Linked DNA regions of Homo sapiens: region 2 is linked to region 1. Evidence: promoter capture Hi-C in human tissues and cell types (Jung and others, 2019). All regions are on one chromosome and are shown on one strand. The core of a region is centred on a gene start or on the middle of the fragment in contact, and the rest is flanking DNA. Distances in the headings are between cores, read along the strand shown.

Region 1 (3,540 bases), core at 1-2,500:
CCGCTCCCTCCCCTCTCCACGGTCTTGACACAGATCAGACAAGAGGGTCAGGTGCAGACTCCTTTTCCAGCCCCTCCCCTTGATGCACCCACCTTGTCTACACTTGTTGCGGATGTTGCTGCCTAAGCGGCCGCTACTCGATGCTGCTGCCACCCAACCCGCTGCGCCTGCGCTTTGTGTGCCCCGGAGAGCCTGGGGCATTTCTCTCCTCCCGCAGCGCCTGAGAGCCCAGCTGCCCCCGGGCCCCGCCCTCCGGACCTGCCCACCCCAGGGAGGGGGAGTGACGTGAAGAGATGCTGACCCGAGGCGTACTGGGACTTGTAGTCTACCCCTGTAGAGCTGGGCAGAAGCAGCCCCGCCTGCAATTTTACTTTTCTATTAAGACATTTGTTCACTCATTTATCATGAAATACTTTTTCTTAAGAATCATTGAACTCAGTTCCTAGAAAAAAAGAAAAAGTAAAGTTGCAAGGAGAAGCCAAGCTCCTAGTTTTGCATGTTTTTTTGATGCTTCCCCTTTCCATCCCCAGCTTCCAGTCTAGTGAGGGAGATTACATGGAAACACACAATTGGAGCACAAGGTGTGATTTAACAATGGAAAAGATGAGCCTGACTTTTCTCAAGGGGTTCAGGAAGGCTTCCCAGAGGAGGCTGAAAGGGGCCTTGGAGGATGAGGGGCAGTTTCCTAGGCGACCCGAAATTTCCCCTATGAATACTGTCAGGATGTTGAAGAGTGCCCAGCATTTCCGTGTGTCTAGAACATAAAGCGCAGGGGTGGGGAGGGCATCGGGAGTGTCAGGCGATAGAGCTGCAGGGTTTGGAAAGAAATAGCACAGAGGCCTTGCATGACAGGCGGAGAGCTTGGATGTTAGGACGCAGTGACTGGAGCTGGGGGTGGGAGTTTCAAGATGAGGAGTGAGGTGTGTGATTAGGGGGTCGGAAAGGCCCCTCTAGGGCACAGTGAAGAATGGACTGGCGGGAGCCCACCTGGAGAAAGGAAGACTTTCTGTATCTATCACCTCGGACTGTGATCATTTCCTTCAATAGCTCAGCCCCGCAAACCCTCACCTACCAGCAGCCACAGGATGTCATTCAGAGACCAGAGGATGTCAGGGCCTAAAAGACTTCTGTCCCGTCCCCTATGTGGCAAGGGTGCCCACCCTGCCCTGGGCCCTTCCTCCTGTCCCAGAGAACTCTTCCTTACCGGGGCTGCAGGGCTCATGGTTCCTGGGTGGCCAGGGCAGCATTTCCCAGAAGGCTCCCGCAGCGGGGCATTTCCCTGAGCGCCTTAGAGATAAGGGGATCAGGAAGGTGCTACCAAGTGGGAGGCTGGAGGGGGAGGCAAGGAGGGAGCGCACAGATCCCAAGGAAGGTCGCCCTCTTTCTCCAGGCTCCTCCCAGCCTTTCCAACTGATGGCTCTGACCCTAGGTTCACTAGACAAGTCATCCCTGATTCAGAAGTGGTCTTGGCTCAGCATCGCCGAGGTTCCCGGAGTGGAATCGGGGCGAGGTTGCGGGGGCAGGACAGGAACCGGGCTGGTCCTCCTCCCTAGGTTGGGGGCGGGGCTACATCTTCATTCTTTGGCCTGGCAGGACAGCGCCCATCACCCCAGTCCTGGCTGCGCAGTCTGGCTCTTTAAGCCTTCCTCTCTTGCTCCTGAGTCTCTGTAATCCTGACCTCGAGCTACCCTCGCTCCTCGGCCCTTTGTGCGGTGCGTGCCCTGCTGAGGGATTCGCCATGGCCAATCCTATTAACCATTGAGTTCATCCCCTCTTAGCCGACTCAAGAACCAGCTCTCCCATACCGCGTTTTCATCTCTGTGCCTTTAACTCACTCTCTGTCTGGTTCCTGGAACGTCCCAGTCCCAGCTTCTCCTAGCTAAATTTTCCACCTCCACAGTGGAAGGAAGAAAGGAAGCAGTGGGAGGGGGAAAGAGGCAAGGAAAGAGATATGGAAGGAAGGAAAGACAGAAGGAGAAAAGAAGGGAGGGGAAAGACGGGAAGGCAGGTAGGTAGGGCTGCAGCTGGCCTCGGAGGATCTGCGCCTGGGTCCTGCCCCGACCCAGCCTCTCTCCAGCTCTCCCTGCTCCCCTCCCCGATGGGCAGTGGGGCATCCTTCATGTTGAGGGGCGGGGACGGTGCAATCATCTCCTAGATTTCATTCTCTGGATTTAGCAACCAGATGAAAAAGGAAGGTTCTCCAGCAGCAGTGGAGACTTCAGGGGAAGACTCTCCCCTACCTCCCAAAGAGCGGGCACTATGACGAAAAAAAGAGGAAAGGACGTGGCAAACTAAAACCACAGACACTACTACCGAATCTAAACGTAGCCGGACTTGGCCCATGTCTCTAAAAGCTGGTCAGTGACCCTCTTTGAGAAGCCAATAAGGAAGTGTAGACTGTCCTCAGGAAAAAATCTGCGTATAATTCCTGGGAGTTCATAGACCTCTGAAGCCATGATAGTCATGGTTGGATTGTTTTTAATTTCCAGAGCTGTGTAGATGGGAGGAGAGTGTAGATTGACGAGTGAGAGGTATGACAGTATGTCAGGAATTCCAGCCGCAGCAGTCCTGGCTGTGAGAGACTTTGTTTGTTCAATCAACTAAAACTTATTGAGACTAATAAGCCAACAAGTAACTTTTACATTTCTTTGTGGCTATGGTGCACAGAACCATTGGCAGAGAGGAAAAGATTTTGCCATTTCAAGTGTCCCTGGTGAATGAACAGCCCACAGATAATACATTGTTTAGGAAATAGTGGACTGGCTCATCAAATTCAAATTTACTACTTACATTTTCTAGAGAGTATAATATAATGAGAATAATTTATATTATCTTTATTTTAAAAAACTTGAAGTTTATATCAAGATGCAATTTGAGCAAAAGTAAAAGTGCTTATGAAAACATTTTAAATGGCCGGGCGCTGTGGCTCATGCCTGTAATCCCAGCACTTTGGGAGGCCAAGGCGGGCAGATCACCTGAGATCGGGAGTTCGAGACCAGCCTGACCAATATGGAGAAACCCCATCTCTACTAAAAATACAAAATTAGCTGGGTGTGGTGGCACATGCCTGTAATCCCAGCTACTAGGGAGGCTGAGGCGGGAGAATTGCTTGAACCGGGAGGCAGAGATTGTGGTGAGCCGAGATTTCACCACTGCACTCCAACCTGGACAACAAGAGCTAAACTCCGTCTCAAAAAAAAAAAAAAAAAAAAAGAAAAGAAAACACTTTAAAGTGATAATTTTACGCTTTTTTTTGTCTTTTTTTTTTTTTCCTTTTTCTGGAGAACGGGGTCTCGCCATATTGCCCAGGCAGGTCTCGAACTCCTGGGCTCAAGCTATCCTCCCGCCTCTTGCCTCCCTGAGAGCGGGATTACAGGCGTGAGCCACTGCGCCCGGCCAAAGTGATAATTTTAGTGAGATGTAATTCACCTACCATAAAATTCACCCTTTTAAAGTAAAAAATTCAGTGGGTATTTTTTTTTTTTTTTTTGATGGAGTCTTGCCCTGTCACCAGGCTGGAGTGCAGTGGTGTGATCTCGG
Region 2 (3,540 bases), core at 697-3,196, 200 kb after region 1:
GGTGTTTGTATTCTAGTTCTGGCTCTGCCAGAAGTATGAGTGGCAGTTATTTGGAACAGATGACATGTCTAACAATAAGAGATTAATTGAAAATATCTAATGTCCGACCGATAATATAATCTTTTTTTTTTTTTTGAGATGGAGTTTCACTCTTGTTGCCCAGGCTGGAGTGCAATGTCGCCATCTTGGCTTGCCGCAACCTCTACCTCCCAGGTTCAAGCGATTCTCCTGCCTCAGCCTCCCAAGTAGCTGGGATTACAGGGATGCACCACCACGCCCAGCTAATTTTGTACTTTTAGTAGAGACAGGGTTTCTCCATGTTGGTCAGGCTGGTCTTGAACTCCCGACCTCAGGTGATCCACCCACCTCGGCCTCCCAAAATGTTGGGATTACAGGTGTGAGCCACCGCGGCCAGCCAATATAATCATTTTATGGCTTCTCTTGTTGTTTTACCTTATTTCCAAAACAGTGTATGCTCATTTTAGAAAAAATAGAGAATACTGACATGAGAAGAACATAGAGGAACACTAATAATTGTATATCTGTTTTTCTAGGTCTTTTAAAATGAACATACATACATTGTTTTTCAACAAAAATGAGAGTATATGCTATGTACTGTTGTATAACTCACCTTAATTTACTTAAGGAATTCTAGATTGGGTTTAGATTTGTTTCAGCTAATGCCCTGTTGGTAGACATTTAGGTTGTTTGAACTTTCACTATTAGCTAGTAGCATAAAGCAGAAATAATAGACTGAAATAAATTACAAATAAAAAGGCAAAAATGTGGGGACACTTTCATTTACAATTTTTTAAAGAGGGACAAAAATGTTTTAAAATGCACAAAAGATTGTAAATACACATACTCACAACAGTATACAAAAAATTACCTGTATTCAGAGAATGACTGGTTTACTGTTTCTACAAAAAGCCATGCTGACTAGAAGCTTGCTTTTGTCCAGCTTGTGCTTGGTCAAACAATAATAGGCCTAACCAGCTGGAGCCATGTGAGAGTTGAGGGAAAGGCAGGGTGATAAGGCACATGATTGAGGATCTGGAAGATTTTTCATCAAACAATCTTAAAATCCATGGGCAAACACAATTGTTTCCAACAGGGAACTTTTAATGAAAAGGGCATGGGTGGGAGACTATTATTTACTGAAGTACTTACTGTTCTGTGCCAAGTATTTATGCTAGTTGCTTTGCATGCCATCTTTTATAATTTTCTGGCCTGCAGTATAGGATATCCTTGTGTTCATGAGGATTAGGTAAAGGGACTTTTCTATGATATTATGTCTGGTAAATGGTACAGCTGACTTTTGAATCCACACTGCCTGCCTTCAGAACCCCCGTTCTTCCCACTGGACTATGATGGCTCCTTTAGGATAGCCAGAGGAGGAAATATCTTCTTTTGATTCACAGTAAGAATGTTTAGATGGGTCTCTACGAAGTAAGTTTAGGGCTTGCTCTGAACTTACTCTGGCCTGGCCCTGCTCACCTTCCAAGCCGGCCCACATGCAGATACAGGAGAAGGAAAAAAGGACACTGGTGCTAACATAGAATAGATACTCAAAAATTATTTACCAATAAGTAAGTTAACTGATTGTGTCTATTTTTTAAAATATCAAAACCCAGGCTTTGAAAATTGAAGTGATTTGCCCAAAGTCACAGAGCTAAAAAGTAAAAGAGCTGGAATTTAAACCTAGGTCTGCCTATAAATGAAGCGCCACTGTTGCATAACACTACAGGTTGTCTCAGTTTGACACCTGCTGTCAGTGTCCACAACAGTAGGGAAGGGGACATGACCTGAGCACAGGTAACACTCTATTTAAGGTATCTCCTGTCACTAACTTGGAGTTGCAGCAACCTTTCCAATCCAGAAGCCAGACCAGATTAAAAGTCTTTTCGTCTTTCTTCCCTCTTCTCTCACAACGCTTATATCTCCCTCTGTGATGGCCTTTGTCCCTGGCAGCCTAATATCAGGGTTACTTATGTTCTTGCTTGTCTTTCTCATTAGATGGTGAGTTCACGGAGGGCAAGAATTATGTCTTCCTTTTGCATTCATTATAGCACTTAGCACACATTAAGTGCTCAAATAAGTATTTATTTAGTTAAATTGGCCAAAGTTTGTGCACTTGGCTTATTTTTGAAGGCAGTCGCTCAAGTATTAACATTTAATGTATACATAATTCTAAAAAGCATGGATTTTTGGCTTTCCAGCCTACAACTAATTATAGCACTGGGAAAGGGCTAAGAAAGGTTGTAGGATACAGGCTTTGGGATGATAAAATAAGTATAAAAGTGAACTTTAGCAACCTGAGTGTAAATGTAAACAAAGATGCCTTTAGTTATGTGCTCCTAATTTCCTCCATTTTTAAGGGTGGAAAAAAGGCTTGGCATATATATATATATATATATATATATATATATATATATATATCCTTTGTATATATAAAGGAAAATTCCTGTGGACTCTTCTGTCTCCTCAAGCTGTCACTTCCTCTCCTTTCCTTTACTGTCAGCATCTTTACTCACTCTGTCTCAAAAAAAAAAAAAAGAAAGAAAGAAAGAAAAGAAATAGAAGCCTTGAACAACACTGTACACCACGTATACCCAACAGTCACCTAGAGGGCACTCCAATAATAGAATATAATTCTCAAGAATACATGGAACAATCTTCAGGATAGACAGTGTGCTAGGCCATAAAACAACTCTCAGTACGTATAAAGGATTGAACTCATACCAAAGTATGTTCTGTGACTGCAGTGGAACAAAATTAGAAATCAGTAACAGAAAGAAATTTGAGAAATTCACAGTTACGTGAAAATTAAATGACACATTCCTAAATAACCAGTGGGTCAAAAAAGAAATCACAAGGAAAATGAGAAAATACTTTGAGATGAATGAAACATAACATACCAAAATGTCTGGGAAATTTATAGCTGTAAGTGCTTACATTAAAAAAGAAGAGGCCGGGCGCGGTGGCTCATGCCTGTAATCCCAGCACTTTGGGAGGCTGAGGCAGACGGATCATGAGGTCAGGAGATCGAGACCATCCTGGCTAACACGGCGAAACCCCATCTCTACTAAAAAATACAAAAAATTAGCCGTGCGTGGTGGCGGGCGCCTGTAGTCTCAGCTACTCGGGAGGCTGAGGCAGGAGAATGGCGTGAATCCGGGAGGTGGAGCTTGCAGTGAGCCGAGATTGTGCCATTGCACTCCAGCCTGGGCGACAGAGTGAGACTCCGTCTCAAAAAAAAAAAAAAAAAAGAAGAAGAAAGACCTCAACTCAATAACTGAATCTTTCACCTTAACACACTGCGGGGAAAAAGAGCAAATGAAGCCTAAATCAAGTACAGGAAAGGACATGATAAAGAAATCAGTGAAATAAAATGGAGAAAAACAGAGAAAATCAATAAACCAAAAGTTGGTTATTTTAAAAGACTGGCAAAATCAACAAACCTTTTTAGCTTTAGCTAGGCTGATGAAGAACAAAAGAGAGAAGTCTCCAATTACTAAAATCAAGAATGATACAGAGGAC

What was found. The method cuts DNA at HindIII sites, captures the fragments that hold promoters and counts their contacts. A contact is called where the count stands out against the background at its distance.
Region 2: a contact is called between a fragment that was not itself captured here and the fragment with the promoter of PLEKHB1 in region 1, in 1 of the 25 tissues and cell types used here (mesenchymal stem cells).

Annotation. Positions count from the first base shown.
Region 1 is chr11:73,644,291-73,647,830 of GRCh38, reverse strand. It overlaps PLEKHB1 (pleckstrin homology domain containing B1), which reads right to left and starts at 1,250. Exons shown (of 8, transcript NM_021200.3): 1 at 1,205-1,250. The coding sequence starts at 1,222. RefSeq lists enhancers at 1-131, 767-1,685 and a silencer at 172-391. The HindIII fragment of the contact is 18,602 bases long and covers 1-3,540 here.
Region 2 is chr11:73,441,855-73,445,394 of GRCh38, reverse strand. All of the region lies in intron 2 of FAM168A (family with sequence similarity 168 member A), which reads left to right. Among named protein-coding and RNA genes, the nearest start is that of RELT, 67 kb to the right of the region's middle. The HindIII fragment of the contact is 7,363 bases long and covers 1-3,540 here.